Linked DNA regions of Homo sapiens: region 2 is linked to region 1. Evidence: promoter capture Hi-C in human tissues and cell types (Jung and others, 2019). All regions are on one chromosome and are shown on one strand. The core of a region is centred on a gene start or on the middle of the fragment in contact, and the rest is flanking DNA. Distances in the headings are between cores, read along the strand shown. Region 1 holds the start of FTCD (formimidoyltransferase cyclodeaminase). Region 2 overlaps COL6A2 (collagen type VI alpha 2 chain).

What was found. The method cuts DNA at HindIII sites, captures the fragments that hold promoters and counts their contacts. A contact is called where the count stands out against the background at its distance.
Region 2: a fragment that was not itself captured here is called in contact with the fragment with the promoter of FTCD in region 1 in 6 of the 25 tissues and cell types used here (H1 embryonic stem cells, IMR-90 fibroblasts, aorta and 3 more).

Annotation. Positions count from the first base shown.
Region 1 is chr21:46,153,382-46,157,507 of GRCh38, forward strand. It overlaps FTCD (formimidoyltransferase cyclodeaminase), which reads right to left and starts at 2,198. Exons shown (of 14, transcript NM_206965.2): 1 at 2,089-2,198; 2 at 768-951. The coding sequence starts at 2,142. RefSeq lists enhancers at 1-563, 564-1,267, 1,268-1,971. The HindIII fragment of the contact is 26,017 bases long and covers 1-4,126 here.
Region 2 is chr21:46,107,899-46,112,024 of GRCh38, forward strand. It overlaps COL6A2 (collagen type VI alpha 2 chain), which reads left to right. Exons shown (of 28, transcript NM_001849.4): 2 at 3,552-3,693; 3 at 4,081-4,126. The coding sequence starts at 3,579. LOC124905043 (a long non-coding RNA gene) reads right to left here. Exons shown (of 2, transcript XR_007067910.1): 1 at 2,573-4,126; 2 at 1,017-2,198. Among named protein-coding and RNA genes, the nearest start is that of COL6A2, 12 kb to the left of the region's middle. RefSeq lists an enhancer at 1-72. The HindIII fragment of the contact is 4,579 bases long and covers 1-4,126 here.

The sequences.
Region 1 (4,126 bases), core at 948-3,447:
GGTGCAAAGCTCAGCTCTCAGGCAGCCCCGGCCAGGCCAAGAGGGGGCGCTCGAGGCTGGGTTCCGGCCACCCCAACCCCCTCCCCTGAAGCCGAGAATCCACTCTGCGTTTCCAGAGCATTCTTCTCACTAGCTGAGTCCCTCGCTGTGGCTACACCAAGCCGTGGGTCGGCGCCCACCCCAGGGGACGCCAGCCTCCCCCGCCTTTGCCGCCACCGCCCAGGGCTGGCCACTTAGAGATAAGCTTCTCATCCATCCACCCCTCAGGATCACTGTGGATCCCTGGCCTCTCATGAGCGGCCCACAGCCCAGCCCCTGGCCAGCGCCCGTGTGTCCACACACCTTTGGCCCTGCCTGCCCACCGAGGTGTTTGGCTTGTGGGCTGTTGACAGGTCAGCTTCCAGGCAGCCCTTCCCCCACCAGTGCCTGCTCCAAGACTGGCTCTCAGCCCCCTTGACGAGTGGGCAGGTGGACGGGGCCCACAAACCTTCCCCGGCGTGGCCCCCTCCCCCCACCCAGCCGTGAAGGTGGCCCGGTGCTGTGGGAGCGTGGCGACCTGGGGGTCCCCCAGAGCACAGCCCTGCAGGCAGGATGGGGGCCATGACCCCCACACTCCAGGGTCCTCCTAGGAGAGCCAGAGCCAGCCCCACTGGACCCCACGTTCCAAGCCTGGGCCCCGGGCCTACCCCCTCTCCCAGGACACCAGGACAGGGCTCGGCCCTGACATTCTGAGACACGGCAGCCACAGGAGAGCCCAGAGACCTCACCTTGGTGCCTGCTCATGTCGATAAGTCGGGAAGCTACCCGGGCAGCGTTGAGGGCCCCCTCCACCACGCACTCCGGCGGCCCCACGAAGGTGTACACGGTGCGGTTGGTGGAAGGGCCTGCGTCCACATCCAGCAGCACGCAGCCCGGGGTCTGTGTGATGGCTCCAGAGATGGCGTCGATCACCTGGGACACAGGCCCGGCCCCCACACCTCAGTCTCCCCGTTTGAAAGAAGGAAAAGGAGCTTGGAGGTGGCTGCACCCCGAGACACAAATGGGGGCTGAGGAGGCGGGCCAAGCCTTTGGGGGCTCTCCGACAAGCTGAGCTCCCACCGAAAGTGCCCGCACACAGCGGCCGCCCGGGAACCCTCACAGCAGCCACAGTCACTCCAGCCCAAGCACAGTCCCCACAAGGGGCTGCAGGTGGTGCCTCCAGGAGAGACTCACGGGCTCTGCTCCGACAGACAGATGCCAGAGACGTGGCCGGGGATCCAAGAAGGTGACCACAGGCGCAGGTCACAGAGGGGCCGGGACCCCCACCCCCGAGCAGGGGAGGGACAGATCACCAGCATGGGGGAGGGGCCTGAAGGGCCTAGAACCTTCCGGGTGGCAGGACTGCTGGGAGCAGGGGCTCAGCCCCAAATCTTGCCCTGTCCCAGGGCCTTGGTGCTGGCTGGAATCCCGGCATGACGAGGCCTCCCTGCACCCCTGCGGGTGACCCCTGTGGCCTGGTGCTGCGCTCTGGGAGGCCTTCCAGGTGGCCCTTAGGGCCTGCGTTTGTTCCCGGAGGAGCCTGGACCTCAGGGCTGTGGAAGGCGAGAGGCCGGACCTGGGGGCCTGCTGCCCCCTCTGTGCCTACTTCGTTTTGGGTCCAGTGAGGATGGTGGCTGCAGGGTGGGGGCTCAGCAAGCTAACTCCAGTGGAGATGGAGAGGCGGCAGTGGGGACCATGCTGGGCCACCTCGTGTGGCCTCACACAGCCCTTTCAGTCAGTGGCAGGAGCCCCATTTTCAGGGGGGAGCACCAAGGCCCTTTGAGGCCCAGAGATCTGCCCAACCCCCCACCGAAAGCACCCGAAAGGCCCCTGAAGCCACAGCCAAGCCTCAGCCCCCACAAGCACCAGTCGTGTTCCACCCACCCCTGGGTCAGGCACTCCCCAGGGCCCTGAGCCACGGGATGTCCTTGGGGCCCACGGGCAGCGGCTCTGCCCATCCTGGGAAGACGACCCGGGACACCAAGCCCACCACCTCCTCCATGGCCTGGGCCTTAGCCACTCAAGCTGCCCCATCAGCCCTAGATGCTTGACCAGCTCCTCGGGCCTCACCTCCTGGTTCTTCCCCTCCGAAAAGTTGGGGACGCATTCCACCAGCTGGGACATGGCCAGCACCTTGATCCAGATGCTCCTCTCTGGGCAGATGGAAGGACAGGGCCAGTGCTCCGCAGCCGCCGCCAGGGCCTTTATACGCTCACCGGCAGCACCTCCCCACCGGCTTCTCATTAACCAGCAAGGCACAAGGAGCAGTGGGGCCAAGGTCCCTGTGCAGCCGCGGAGTGGGGTGCTGCAGAGCCACCCCGGGTGCTGTTGACCCAGAGGGGATGGCTCCACTCAGCCAGAGTGTGGGTTCCCGGAAAAGAAGCACATGCCAGGGTGAAGGGGCATGTGCCGAGGACCCCCAGGAGCATCAGGCCAGCCTGGCTGGAATCCTGTCGTGACGAGGCCTCCCTGTGCCACTGCGGGTGACCCTCGTGACCCTGTGCTGCCTTCTGGGAGGCCTTCCAGGCAGCCCGTGGGGCCTGCGTTTGTTCCTGGAGGAGCCTGGACCCCTGGGGCTGTGGAGGGCGAGAGGCCAGCATGAGGCCCTGGCTCGCAGCACCCAACTGAGGTCAGCTCAGCTCAGACAGGAGAGTGCAGGGGAGCACGCGTGTGAGAGTGAGTGAGGATACACGTGAGGGCAGGGCAGGGGAACACGTGAGAGTGCAGATACACGTGAGCACAAGGCAGGGGAGCACATGTGTGAGAGCGTGGATACATGTGAGCACAGGACAGGGGAACACGTGTGAGAGTGAGCGAGGATACATGTGAGTGTGGGGTAGGGGAGCACACGTGTGAGAGTGCAGGTACACGTGAGCATGGGGCAGGGGAAGCAAGCATGTGAGAGTGAGTGCAGATACATGTGAGCGCAGGGCAGGGGAACACGCGTGTGAGAGTGCAGATACACACGAGACGGGCATGTGCGATATGGGGGAAGGCAGCTGAGACCCCAGCTCTCCCCAGCTGCTGCTCCCCTGACTACAGGCTCCCCACGAAGTCAGCGGCACCAGGGCCGTGCTCAGAAGGGAGAACTCCTGTCTCCACGTTCAGCCGCTGCCCACTTGCAGTGCTTTTATCATTTTCTCTTTTTTTTTTTTTTGAGACAAAGTCTCACTCTGTCAGCCAGGCTGGAGTGCAGCGGCACAATCATGGCTTCCTGCAGCCTTGGTCCCCAGGCTCAAGAGGTCCTTTCACCTTAGCCTCCTGAGCATCTGGGCCACAGGCACACACCACTACACTGGCTAACTTTTCCATTTTTGGTAGACATGGTGATATGGTTTGGCTGTGTCCCCACCTAAATCTCATCTTGAATTGTAGAGCCCATAGTTCCCACGTCATGGGAGGGACCCGGTGGGAGGTCACTGAATCACGGGGGCGGCTTTTTCCGGTGCTGTTTTTGTGATAGTGAATGGTCTCACGAGATCCGATGGTTTTATAAAGGGCAGTTCCCCTGCACACACCCTCTTGTAAGACGTGACTTTGCTCCTCTTTCACCTTCCACCATGATTGTGGAACTGTTGAGTCCATTAAACTGCTTTTTCTTTAAAAATTACCCAGTCTTGCGTATGTCTTTATCAGACAAATACACATGAGGTCTCACCACGTTGCCCAGGCTGGTCTCAAACTCCTGGGCTCAAGCGATCCTCCTGCCTCGGCCTCCCAAAGTGCTGGAATTACAAGTGTGAGCCACTGAGCCCAGCCCCACTTGAAGTTCTTTTTTTTTTTTTTTTTTTTTTTTGAGACAGGGTCTCGCTCTGTCGCCCAGGCTGGAGTGCAGTGGTGCGATCTTGGCTCACTGCAAGCTCTGCCTCCCGGGTTCACGCCATTCTCCTGCCTCAGCCTCCAGAGTAGCTGGGACTACAGGCACCCGCTACCACACCCAGCTAATTTTTTGTATTTTTAGTAGAGATGGGGTTTCACCATGTTGGCCAGGATGGTCTCGATCTCTTGACCTCATGATCCACCCACCTCGGTCTCCCAAAGTGCTGGGATTACAGGCGTGAGCCACCCACTTGAAGTTCTTAATGGAACCCCAACCATGTGGGCCTTA
Region 2 (4,126 bases), core at 1,021-3,520, 45 kb before region 1:
GGTACATGTTCTCAGGACCTCCTAAGGGCTGTGTCATGGGTCATGGCCACTCATATTTGGCTCAGAATAAATCTCTTAAAATATTTTACAGAGTTTGACTCTTTTCATCAATGATATATTTTTCTAAGTGGCTCACTAAATTTTCTCTCCCTAATCTCCCCTCCTTTCTCTTTCTTTCTCTCTTTCTCTCTGTCTATATATATATATATTTTTTTTTCTCTTTTTTAAAAAAACTTTGTTCAGATGATTTTCTGGGTAGACAATCCTATCTTTAATAAGGACAGTTTTGTCTCTTCTTTTCCAACAGTTATACTTTTATTTTTACTGTCTTATTGCATTGGCTTCCAACACAACACTGAATGGTAGCGTAAGATCTGCACTGTTTGCCCCCACCCCATTTTTTTTGTACTGTAGTAAGCATTCTTCTAATGCAGGATTTTTTAACCCAGGGTTAGATCTACGAATGGAATCCCTGAATTCCTGGACATGATTTCTGTATATGAGCATCTATGCATTTGTGTAAGGTGAAATTGTGTAGACTCTTAAAAGGGTCCATGACCACAAAGATAAGAACCACTATTTTAGCTTTTTGTGTAAAATATGATGTGAGCTCTTGATTTGAAATGTATATCCTTTATAGAGTTAATTCTACTCCTAAATTTCTTACTAGGTTTTACCTTGTCTGGCTGTTGTTGTTTCTTAGTTAGAAATTGATGTTTCAGGGATCTATTGAAGCAATTGCATATTTTTTCCCATTTTATGTTAATGTGACTTACATTAATGTATTCCCTAGTGTTTGTGGCAACACTGTACTTTAACTTCATATTATAGTTCTGGTATAGTGGTCCTTAATATGCTATTGGATTTTAGTTTTTAATATTGGCTAGAATTTTTGTGATAATGTTATGGGATTTTTAGGGTGTCACTTTTCTGGCCTGAAACCTCTATGGCCAGTGGCGCCTTTGCCCAAGTTCTTGTCCTGTGTCCAGGAAGAATGAGGTACACAGACAAGTGGAGGGTGTGCAAGACAGAGAAGCTTTATTGAGTGTTAGGGGAGCTCACAGGAGACCCGCAGGGGGCAGCCCCTCTCTGTAGGCGGGTTGTCTTGTCGGCGGGTTGTCTTGTCAAATGTTCAGCTCTCAGCAGAGAGAAGGCCCTGGAGTGGGTGGCTCCTCTCTGCAGGCAGGTCATCCCATTGTCTCTGCAGCTCTTAGCAGAGAGGAGGCCCTCGAGAGCGTGTCTCCTCTCTGCAAACAGGGCATCTCAACTAGTGTTCAGCTCTCAGCAGAGAGAAAGCCCTGGAGAGGGTAGCTCCTCTCTGCAGCTGGTCGTCCTGACATCCCTTCAGGTCCTGAAGCTCTCAGCAGAGAGAGCACCTCCTCTCTGCAGCTGGTCGTGCCATGCTCTGCCCTGCTCTGACTGAGCCTGGGGCTTTTAAAGGCCTCAGAGAGGGGAAGTGCATGCTGATTGGTCCATGTGCAGCCATGTGCAGGCCCAGAAGAAAGCACCTTGAGTTCCCCTCTGGTCCGTAGGACGGGCAACCCGGCCCCCAGGCTTCAGGCCTGCCCCAGCCTGAAGGTGGGGCTTCACTGGGGACCCATCCTCTTCTGCCCAGGAGCCTATCTGCCTCCTGCAGCCATCCATGGTGCCCAGGCTGCTGGTACCAAGGGGCACCGGTGCCCAGCCACCCTCAGCACCCCCCCAAGCCTCCCCTCCTGCACTTCTCAGTGCCCACAGTTTGGAGGGGGCCAAGTCAGCAGGGGGCTGGCATGTCAGCACTGCCACAAGCATGCACCCACCCGGCCAGGCTGTGACAGTGCCCAGGCTCAGCCCCAACTCTGCTCTGAGATTGGAGTGGGTGGTGGGAGCGGGAAGAAGCTGGGCAGCGGGAACAGGCACCTCCAGGCCTACAAGGGAAAGAGGGGCCTTCCCTGGCTCCCCAAGAGTGCAGCGATGCCTGGGTCAGCAGCCCCAGTTGGGGCAGCTGAAACTGCACCAGGAGTGGGGGCTGGCTCCTGCCTCCTCCATGGAGCAGAAGGCCCAGATCCACAGCCACGACTTGGGCAGTTGTACCTGGGGAACTCTCACCTCGCCAAACTGCAAGGGGCAGGGATCCCACTTATCCCCGGCTCCTGCTGGCTCCGTGGAGCATGGTACCTGGCCATGTCCTCTCGCAGCCTGGGGCAGGGTCTCCAGACCTGGGCCAGCATCCCAGACAGGGGCAACACCGCCGTGAGCTCCCCTTCACCCAGCACACCACCCGGCCCGGCCCCATGGCAGCGGCCCCCAGGGAGGCAGTCTGCGGGGTTGGGGGCCTGTCTGCCTCTTCCATGGGCCCTCCCTGAGCAGCCAGTGTGATGGCAGCGGCCACACCAGATGGGCTGCCGCTGCCATCAGTAATATTTATAGTGATATTTATCTGTAGAGTTACTTTTAGGGACTTTTTTTTTTATCAAGCTTTGGTCACAGGTTATGCAACATTTAAAAATGAATTGGGAAAAAGTTTATCTTTTTATGTTCTAAAACAAGTTAAATAGCATGAAGTGCTTGTCCTTGAAGCTGTGAAACTCACCCACAAACTGCCTGAGCTGGCACCTTTGGGAACGGACTTCATTCCTCCCTGGGCCCCAGGCTGAGCAGGTCTGGCCTGGGTCACCTCATCCACTCCAGACGCCGCAAAATCACAGCAACCCTTCAGGGCCCTCTCCTGGCAGCGCCTCCCCTAGTCCCGGTGCTTGGACACTCCTCCCATCTGCACCGAGGAGAGGGCGGCACTCCAATCCCTGCATTACCCCTGGAACTGCACGCTCTGAACCAGGCCCGGTGCCCTTTCTGCCCAGCTGCCCGGCTGCTGCCAGCCCCACTCTGCGGAGCCAGCAGCACAGTGAGGCCCGTCCTGATGGCCTCCTGGAGCTGGAGCTTAGGCCAAGCCACAGGGCATCAGGGAGGATGGACGTTCAAGGGCTGGATCTGTTTGCCCCAGGGTCCTGGCACCCAACAGAAAGGAAAGCCAGGCTAATGACGGCTGTGTCCCTACACTTGACAGAGTCCTCCCTCCCTCCTTATCAAAGTCCTGTTTAAAGGGAATGGAGCCAGGCTGGAGAGAGAGTGCCTAGCTCTGCAGGGGAGCCGGTCTGGGGAAGCTGGGATCTCTCTCCCGCCCTCCCCTCTGCACTGTTTCCAGGGCAGCCCCAGGCAGTGGGGGGCGCCAGACAGTGGTGCTCCATTCCCTTCCATGCCGACGCGCCCAGCTACCCACTCCACCCAGCCCTGGAGGACATGGAAGGGCCTCAACCATCCAAATCCCACCCAAAACTGAGCCCAGAGGCACCCACTAAACATCTGTGACCCCACCCAGGGTGGGGCAAGAGGGCGCAAGCCCCCCAGTCCAGATGCTGGTGACGGTGTGTGCTGGGCGCAGACCCCGCTTCCTTGAAGACTGAGGGCAGTGCCCCCAATCCCGCTGACCTGCTGTGCGTGCGCCTGCCATGGGGGAGGGTGCCAGGGGAGAGGCACTGGGGGTGTCTGAGCGACCCCCACCCCTGTTGCAGGACTTCAGGGCCACAGGTGCTGCCAAGATGCTCCAGGGCACCTGCTCCGTGCTCCTGCTCTGGGGAATCCTGGGGGCCATCCAGGCCCAGCAGCAGGAGGTCATCTCGCCGGACACTACCGAGAGAAACAACAACTGCCCAGGTGCCAGGGGTCGGGGGCCGGGGGCTCTGGGCATTTGGGGGGCAGTTGGGACCAGTACCCAGGTGCCAGGGGTCGGGGGCCGGGGGCTCTGGGCATTTGGGGGGCAGTTGGGACCAGTACCCAGGTGCCAGGGGTCGGGGGCCGGGGGCTCTGGGCATTTGGGGGGCAGTTGGGACCAGTACCCAGGTGCCAGGGGTCGGGGGCCGGGGGCTCTGGGCATTTGGGGGGCAGTTGGGACCAGTACCCAGGTGCCAGGGGTTGGGGGCCGGGGGCTCTGGCATTCGGGGGCAGTGAGGTCAAACCCACAAACAGGCACGGGGCCAGGAAACGGGGCTCCAACAGCAGTCCCTCCTGAGGCTGGCTCGTGACAGGTCCTGTGCCCCACAGAGAAGACCGACTGCCCCATCCACGTGTACTTCGTGCTGGACACCTC